3 separate regions of the Homo sapiens genome follow, and regions 1 and 3 are each linked to region 2. The links are contacts of gene promoters, found by promoter capture Hi-C in human tissues and cell types (Jung and others, 2019). All regions are on one chromosome and are shown on one strand. Each heading gives the region's core, a stretch centred on a gene start or on the middle of the fragment in contact. The rest is flanking DNA. Distances are from core to core; before and after follow the strand shown.

Evidence for each region. The method cuts DNA at HindIII sites, captures the fragments that hold promoters and counts their contacts. A contact is called where the count stands out against the background at its distance.
Region 1: a contact is called between a fragment that was not itself captured here and the fragment with the promoter of TRIML2 in region 2, in 1 of the 25 tissues and cell types used here (spleen).
Region 3: a contact is called between a fragment that was not itself captured here and the fragment with the promoter of TRIML2 in region 2, in 2 of the 25 tissues and cell types used here (H1 embryonic stem cells and hippocampus).

The regions. Positions count from the first base shown.
Region 1 is chr4:188,157,598-188,160,548 of GRCh38, forward strand. LINC02434 (long intergenic non-protein coding RNA 2434) reads left to right here and starts at 2,456. Exons shown (of 2, transcript NR_187427.1): 1 at 2,456-2,505; 2 at 2,904-2,951. RefSeq lists an enhancer at 1,653-2,852. The HindIII fragment of the contact is 3,258 bases long and covers 1-2,951 here.
Region 2 is chr4:188,108,194-188,111,286 of GRCh38, forward strand. It overlaps TRIML2 (tripartite motif family like 2), which reads right to left and starts at 1,410. Exons shown (of 8, transcript NM_173553.4): 1 at 1,050-1,410. RefSeq lists an enhancer at 1-441. The HindIII fragment of the contact is 13,208 bases long and covers 1-3,093 here.
Region 3 is chr4:188,060,234-188,063,093 of GRCh38, forward strand. No RefSeq gene overlaps it. Among named protein-coding and RNA genes, the nearest start is that of TRIML2, 48 kb to the right of the region's middle. The HindIII fragment of the contact is 3,324 bases long and covers 1-2,860 here.

The DNA.
Region 1 (2,951 bases), core at 225-2,724, 49 kb after region 2:
TTTCTCTAGCTCCATTGTACATCTGCCTCTGGGTTAGCCAGATACGAAGATGAAGCACAAAGGCAGTAAAGCCAGGTCTGCTGGGTTCAAATCTCAGCTCCACCACTCACCACTTACTAACTGTACCAGCTTGTCTCCCCATGCCTCAGTCCCCTCATCAGGAAAATGTGTTTGAAAATAATATCCGGGCCAGTACATGGTAACCTCAGCAAGTTGGGAGGCCCAGGCAGGAGGATCGCTTGAGCCCCGCTCAAGACCAGCCTGGGCAATATAGTGAGACCCCAAGTAATACTATTACCAAAAATAAAAAGAATGAGCCAGGTATGGTGGCACACACCTGTGGTCCCAGTTACTAAGGAGGCTGAGGTGGGAGCATCACTTAAGCCTGGGAGGTCGAGGCTGCAGTGAGCCGTGATTGTGCCATTGCATTCCAGCCTGAGCGACAGAGCGATACCCTCTCTCAAAAAAAAAAAAAAAAAAAAAGGAAATAATACTGCTTCACAGGGCTGTCTAGGGCTGTCGTATGCATGAAATGACATAACACTTGTACTTGGAGCATCACTTAATTTCAGGTGTAAGCACTCAACAGTGCTAACTATGAATCGCTCCTCACCAAGCTTGGACGTCTACACTAGCATGACGCTGTTTGAGGTTTTAGACACTGCCCTGATTCCTCACAGTTCTGACCAAGAACCTGAAACTGAGGTCGGAATATTGCCTTCTATTCCTCCCATTTCTGCCTGGGGGTCCTGGTTCTGTCCTTACTGTCCTTACGGAAACTCTACCTCACCAGTTTTGCAATGGCCTCTGTGGGGTCCCCCAGTAACCCTTCTCCCCTACTTCACTTTCTTTCTGTGCCCTGACCAAGAATCACAGAGTGTCCTGACAGCTCTTCACCCAGCCAGGTGCAAGCTTCTCCCAGCACGCCCAAACCCAAACCGGGCCCAAACCGGAGTCTCGAACATTCCCAGACACTCATTAAGGTCTCGAGGTTGTCGCCCGAAACACGGAAAGAAACTGGCCCTGGCCCCTAACCAAATTTCTTAAAACTCTCACATTCCATAATCCCTGAACCCCTCACTGCAGACACACGCAGGTAGAACACCTTTTTTTTGAGATGGAGTTTCACTCTGTCACCCAGGCTGAAGTGCAGTGGAGTGGTCTCAGCTCACTGCAGCCTCTGCCTCCCGGGTTCAAGCAATTCTCGTGTCTCAGCCTCTTGAGTAGCTGAGATTACAGGCGCATACCACCACGCCCTGCTAATTTTTGTATTTTTAGTAGAGACGGGGTTTCACCACGTTGGCCAGGCTGGTCTTGAACTCCTGACCTCAGGTGATCCGCCCGCCTCAGCCTCCCAAAGAGCTGGGATTACAGGTTTGAGCCACTGTGCCCAGTCTCTCTTTTTTTTTTTTCTGGTTATTATATAAATACTTTTTAAAAATGTAATTTAATTTTCAGTTCTGGAATGTATGTGCAGGACACGCAGGTTTGTTACATAGGTAAACATGTGCCACGGTGGTTTGCTGAACCTATCACCCCGTCATTTAGGTATTTAAGCCCCGCATGTATTCACTATTTATCTTGATGTTCTCCCTCCCCCTGCCCCACCGACAGGCCCCAGTGTGTGTTGTTCCCCTCCCTGTGTCCATACAGAGCACCCCTTTCTCTCCAAGGATCGCTGTGGCCTCTGTAAGCTCCCCTCATAACTGCTCTGAACTGAGCACCCTGCTGATGAGGGCTTCTTTCTTTGGAATCCCAATCGACCCCATCCTGGAACAGTTCAGAGTACTCCCTTGTGGGAATTCCCCCGCCGCTGCTTTTGGGGTGATTCCAGCGTTGGGTTGGCTGGACAAAACAGCCTCGAAGCATACTGCCCCAAATCTGGTCCTTCTGAGTTTCTGATTCCCTCACTCTTCATCTCTTATGACGCCTTCCTAAACATTCCTGAGAGTTTCAAACATTGTCTTTCATTTGACTCAGGGATTCATCATCCGCTTCCTGTTGAAATAGTAAACGCCTCCACATGGACTCACGGGTTCACCTCCTTCCGGTCTGAACAGTGAACTCCTCCGCATCAACTCACCCATTCACCCCTTCCGGTCTAAACAGTGAACGCCTCCGCATGGACTCACGAGTTCACCTCCTTCCGGTCTAAACAGTGAACGCCTCCGCATCGACTCACGGGTTCACCTCCTTCCGGTCTGAACAGTGAACTCCTCCGCATGGACTCACGGGTTCACCTCCTTCCGGTCTGAACAGTGAACGCCTCCGCATCGACTCACGGGTTCACCTCCTTCCGGTCTGAACAGTGAACTCCTCCGCATGGACTCACGGGTTCACCTCCTTCCGGTCTGAACAGTGAACTCCTCCGCATCGACTCACGGGTTCACCTCCTTCCGGTCTGAACAGTGAACTCCTCCGCATGGACTCACGGGTTCACCTCCTTCCGGTCTGAACAGTGAACTCCGCATCGACTCACGCGTTCACCTCCTTCCGGTCTAAATGGTAAACTCCTCTGCATTGTAAGTCAGTGTCTAGAGTGGTGATTTGCTTTCTGGGGTGTGTTTTTCACAGTGATGGTGGATCCACAAATTTCAAACAAATTCTTTCTCCACCAGTTCTGTTCGGTTCTATTTTGGTGGGGCCCACGCGTCATCACAGAGTATCTGGGAGCCCTGCCCTCTTGCAGATGGGAATGAAGGCCCAGGTGCTCTGGAGAGGTGACTCTCCTCTAGGTGAGGGGTGTGTGTGTGAGAGGAGTGAGGTGCGGTGTGGGAGGGTCCTTGCAGGGTCCGGCTGCTTTCGGAGGCTGTTTTTCTCAGCTCCCCGTTTTGTCCCTCCAAATTGTGCCCCTCTCCTTCCAATTGTCACTCTCCTTTCCCCCAACCCTCCCTGTCTCCCAGTTGTCTCGCTTCTCAGAAAGGAAACACTGGTTCTGTAAACCTGTTTGA
Region 2 (3,093 bases), core at 160-2,659:
TCTCCCAGTCCTGGTCTCTCCCTAGGTAATCTTACTCGTTTCTGAAGATTTAAGTTCCATTCTCCGATTTCAATCTCCTGCCCAATTCCCAACATTTTTGCAATAGAATGTCTAAGGAGCACTCAAAATTAACATATCTAAAGCCGCTCAGGATCTCAACCCAGTGGCTCTCTTCCCCCAAACTCATTCCTTTAGAGCCACAGTTTAAGCCTTCCTTTCACCAATTCAACTATTGTTTTCCAAATTTATATTCTGTCCTGCCCTCCTCGTCCATCTCCAGCTCCTCTCTGCTCAACCACCAGAATACTATTTTAAAACCAAAACCAAGTGAGCAGGTTTGTGGTCACTTTCTATGGCATTAGAGTAAGATCGAAGTGGGTAATAACCCCGTCCTATACAATCTGGCCTCCTGCCTTCTTCTGATCTCTCTATAGCTTTCCCCCATCACTGTCAATCTAGCTGCCTCTAATTCATCACAGCCCTTCCCCCTTCCGTGGCCAACAGAGCTCTTCTCTCATATTTTTGCAATTCCAGCTGCCTCTTCTTTCTTCTCTTCAGTTCTCAGCTCAAATGTCTTCCCAAGAGAGACCTTTCCATCACTACTCAATTTGAAATACCTTCCCACTACTCATCTCCTTATTTTATTTTCTTAGTAGCGAAAAGATTTTATCTTTCTATGAACAAGTTTACTTGTGGGTCACTCTCCATCCATAAGAAACTAAGTCCTTGAGATGCCCTGTGTCTACATCTGACATACTCGATGCACAATAAATATTGTAAACGATATTTTATGTTAAACCAGTAAAAATTGAAGGTGTAATGAGAGAGGGACAGAGACTAAATATTTTTACAGAAACAGCAAAGGAAAATTGACGAATTAAGTCCCCAGCATGTTGTCTACCCTTATTTTGTTTTTCCTAATATTTTTCTTCAGGCTTTTTCCTGATAACACACAGATACACACACACACACATAGATTCTAAGATCAAGTTTAGAAATCTAAAGAAACAATTATTAAGAAAATGATCTATAGAGAAAATCTCACTTACTTTCTTTGTAGCAATCCTGGGTATTTCCTTTTTTTTTTTTTTTTTTTTTTTTGAGACAGGGTCTTGCTCTGTCACCCAGGCTGGAATGCAGTGGCGCAATCTCGGCTCACTACAGCCTCGAGCTCCCAGGCTCAAGTGATTCTCCCACCTTGACCTCCTGAGTAGCTGGGATTACAGGCGCTGCACGACCACACCCGGCTAATTTTTGTATTTTTTGTAGAGACGGGGTTTCAGTATTTTTCCCAGGCTGGTCTTGAACTCCTGGGCTCAAGCAATCTGCCTGCTTCAGCCTCCCAAAGTACTGGGATTACAGGAATGAGTCACCACACCGAACCAAGGTATTTCCTTTAGGGAAAAAGCTGGAACAGTGGAGACTGAAGAGATTTTATCTGTTCAATTCCTCCCTCAGCCCCGCCCTCACACCATCAGGAAGGCGTCTGTGAAGTTTCTTATCATATTCACACAATTAATCTCATTAGAACCACCTGAGTTTATTAAAACGCAAGCCTCTTCACAGGGTCTCTGATTCCAGAAATCTACGGTGGGGTCCGTAATTTACATTTTTAATGGACTCCCAGAAAATGCTTAATAGCCCTGACCTTGGTTGGATAAATATCTTGTTTTATCTCCAGTGCCATGTACAGTGCCTAACACCTCTAGCTCCTTAAGGTTTGGGGTTTTCTTTCTTAATGAATCTAGTGTATATTGACAATTTCACAGGAAAGAAGCCTTCGAGCTAACACTCAAGACTGTGTTTGTTCCTTAGTAGAAAATAATGCCTGACTTGTTAGTTTCTAGAACGTTTGCTGGAGAAGTGTTCATTCCAGTATCTGTGGAAAGAAAAACCAAGAGTAGGGATAACTGCCTATGGAATCTGTCACAGATGGGAGGTCAGGGAACAATCCCAGATAATTCATACTTGATATTTGGCTTCAGTGAGGAGGAACTCTTCACAGCTTTCTAAGTTTTATAGTTTTGTCCCCGAGGGTTTTTATTGCATCAGTCAGTCAATCCCCTGCTAATCAAACCAGGGAGTTTTTTTCTTTATGCTGCTGACAGGATAATGAGAATTCTTCTGCTTTGCTTATCTGATCTTTCAGAACCTGGTTCTACCTTATGGAATCTCAATACACCGTTTCTCTTTTTCTTTTTTCTTTCTTTTTTTTTTTTTTTAGATGAGAGTCTCACTCTGTTGCCTAGGCTGGAGTGCGGTGGAGCGATCTCGGCTCACTGCAGCCTCCGCCTCCCAGGTTCAAGCAATTTTCCCACTTCAGCCTCCCGAGTAGCTGGGATTATAGGCGCCCACCACACCCAGCTAATTTTTGTATTTTTAGTGGAGATGGGGTTTCACCATGTTGGCCAGGCTGGTCTCAAACTCCTGACCTCAGGTGACCCACCCTCCTTGGCCTCCAAAAGTTCTGGCCACCGCGCCTGGCCATACACCCTTTCTCTTATCTCAGATGATTACCTACACCCACTCTCTTTTCCAAAACCCAATTCCCCAGCTTTCTTCAAATAGACCACATTTATTCCTGTGCCCCCTCCCCTCCTCAGCCAGTCCATCCTCCTTTACTTCTCTTATTTTTCTAATCCAATCTTCCTTTCTCTTCTAAGCCTGGGTACGGCCAACGTCTGTGAAGATACTCACACATACTTGTTGTCAGATACTCTGTCATTTACTCTCACCATCCCTTGAGCTTTCATAACTCTTGAGCTTACTCATCTTGACAAGAAAACTTTGTAATCTTTGAATCAAATGGAAAATAAACATCAAGCATATTGTCAGGTTTTGAAGTCTCTTAAAGCCTGTTTTAGAGTATTAAATGCTTAAATAAATACTTATTAAAGCCTGTTTTACTATTAAATAAATATTTATTAATAATTAAATTATTAATTCTAGAAGAGTCAATATTTTAAGATAATTCTAAAAACATTACAAAAAAGTGTGCTAAACCCTTATTTACTGTTACATGCCCCACCTGTTGCATGCTCCAACCCCGTGAGGTACATCTGCAGCTGATGAAGTAGATGACGTAGAGATTAA
Region 3 (2,860 bases), core at 240-2,739, 48 kb before region 2:
AATTTAGAGACATGCAAAGAAGGGGAATGATAAACATCAAGTGATTATTTATCTCCGCATTTCCCAAGGACTGAGTCAAGTAGCATCTTCTCATGATAATTTTGGTGATCACCAGGAAAGCTTTTTATTAGATAACGATTTATTGCAGAAAATACATAAAAAACTAATACTTTTGCAGAGATTAATTTTGTGTGAGGTTAAAGTAGACATTTAATTTAAAGAAGTTAGTCACTGAAAGTAAAATATTCAGTAAATAAGAGTTTCGACAGAACATAGCCACTGCAACAGTAGTGGAGCAGAGGTGAGCACAACCGAGGCTGCGGCAGGAGAATGGCGTGAACCCGGGAGGCGGAGCTTGCAGTGAGCCGAGATCGCGCCCCTGCACTCCAGCCTGGGCAACAGAGCCAGACTCCATCTCAAAACAAAAACAAAAACAAAAAGAAAACCAACAACTGAAGCTTGGCACATGTTAATCTGTCCCAACCAGGCACACATTGCCTTGGTAATGATAATTATAATTAAATATTAGTATAGCTTCCCTGTGTTGAGGGTTTACTCTGTGTCAAGCATTATGTTATGGACTTTATATCTCATTTAACAGTCACAATCTCCCAAGGACGCTTATATTTTCTTGAGACAACAGAGGCTGAGAGAACGTAATGAAATGGCACAGATAACTAAAAGTTTATTCTTTAATTGCCATGCAACTACACCCAGTAGGAGCCAAATATTGGAGGAAAGGATCGCTAAAGATTTTGACCTTGTAAATTTTGACTTTGAGTGAGAAAAGCAAGTGCCAGATGAATAAATAACCCTTTTTGAGAGGTGCTATGAATAAGTATTATGAGCATGCAGGGCAGGAGAGGATTGGGGATGGAAGCCAGGTCAGGGAAGGGTTCCTTGAGGAGATGATGCTGAAGTGGGCTCGGACGAATGCATCAGCATTAACTAGGCGTTAACAAAGGAAGCTCTAAGTGGAAGTGCCTGGGAGAACACACACAGAGGCCCCTGTGGTGGAGCCAGAGAGCTTCACGGTGCCACGGACCGTGGTGGAGCCAGAGAGCTTCACGGTGCCACGGACCGCGGTGGAGCCAGAGAGCTTCACGGTCCCACAGACTGTGGTCCCAGCGGGCCTCTGTTTCTGCAGCCTTGCCCAAAGTAGGTTGTCAACATTTTGAATTACTGACAAATTCAAGGGTAAGAAACGTTATCTCCGGTAGATTTAGTTTGCATTTTCCTTATTAAGAACATCTTTTATAAGCTTAAGAACAATTTACATTCTTCTGTAAACTACTTCTTACATTCTTTGCCTATTTTCCTGTTTGTTTCCTCATTCATTTGAAAAAGCATCTCATAGATTAAGTTAGTTTCTTGTCTATGATATAAGACATATATTTGCTTTCTAATTTAACATTTATTTCATCTTTATTATTTTAAATTTTTAGTTATGTGAAAAATTTTAATTATTATTATTATTATAATTTTTTTTTTGAGACAGAGTTTTGCTCTTGTTGCCCAGGCTGGAGTGAATGGAACGATCTCAGCTCACCTCAACCTCCGCCTCCCAGGTTCAAGCGATTCTCCTGCCTCAGCCTCCCGAGTAGCTGGGACTACAGGCATGCACCACCACGCCCAGCTAATTTTGTATTTTTAGTAGAGACAGGGTTTCTCCATGTTGGTCAGGCTGGTGTCTAACTCCTGACCTCAGGTGATCTGCCTGTCTCGGCTTCCCAAAGTGCTGGGATTACAGGCGTGAGCCACTGCGCCCGGCCTTATTTTAAAAGTCAAATCAATCTGTGATTTTTGTTGTTTTTGAGTTTAATATACTGAGGAGGCTAATATATTCCAATTTTATAAAAGTATTCAACTGTGTTTTCTTTTAGCACTTTTATGGTATCAGTTTTGAAGTGTAAGTATGTGAACATTGGGATTTATTTTGGTTTAAAGTGTGAGGTAGAGATACAATTAATTTTTTTCTTCAAATAGCTCCTCTTGTTGCAACACTATTTGTAGAATAATCCATCTTTCTCAATTGATTTGAAATATCACCTTTATCAATACTAGATTTCCATATGTATTTGAGTCTTTTACTGGACTTCATTCTGTTTCATTGATGAGTCTATATCTTCATATTCTAGTAATACTGTGTTTTCAATGTTATTATTATTATTTTATTCATTTATTTATTTACTTATTTGTTTATTTATTTTGAGACGGAGTCTCGCTCTATCTCCCAGGCTGGAGTGCAGTGGCCCAGTCTCTGCTCACTGCAACCTCTGCCTCCCAGGTTTAAGTGATTCTCCTGCCTCAGCCTCCCAAGTAGCTGGGATTACAGGTAACTGCCACCACGCCCAGCTAATTTTTGTATTTTTAGTAGAGATGGGGTTTCACCATATTAGCCAGGCTTGTCTCGAACTCCTGACCCTGTGATTCATCTGCCTTGACCTCCCAAAGTGCTGGGATTACAAGCGTGAGCCACTGCACCCAGCCTAATTATTATTGTTTTATTATCTTGTAGGGCTAATTACTTGCATAAAGTATTTCTCAGATTTATACTTTTGCCTGTTATTCTTATTCACTTATTTTTCCATACCTTCTTCAGAATCAGATTTCTAGTTTAAAAAATTCCTGTTAAAATTGTTATTGAGCATTAGATGGAAGCAGCATGGGTAGGAGCCGTGGGGCTGTTTCCGGGAGGGTATTCCAGGCCTAATGGCCAGCATGTGTCAGGGCCTCGACTGGCAGTGCGTGTTGTGTGTTTGAAGAACAGGGGAGTTGGAGTTACTGCAGCAGAGAGTTCAGTCTGAGGAGGGGAGATGGGAGATAATGCCCTAGTGGGGGTGGAGGTGGGACATGAGGG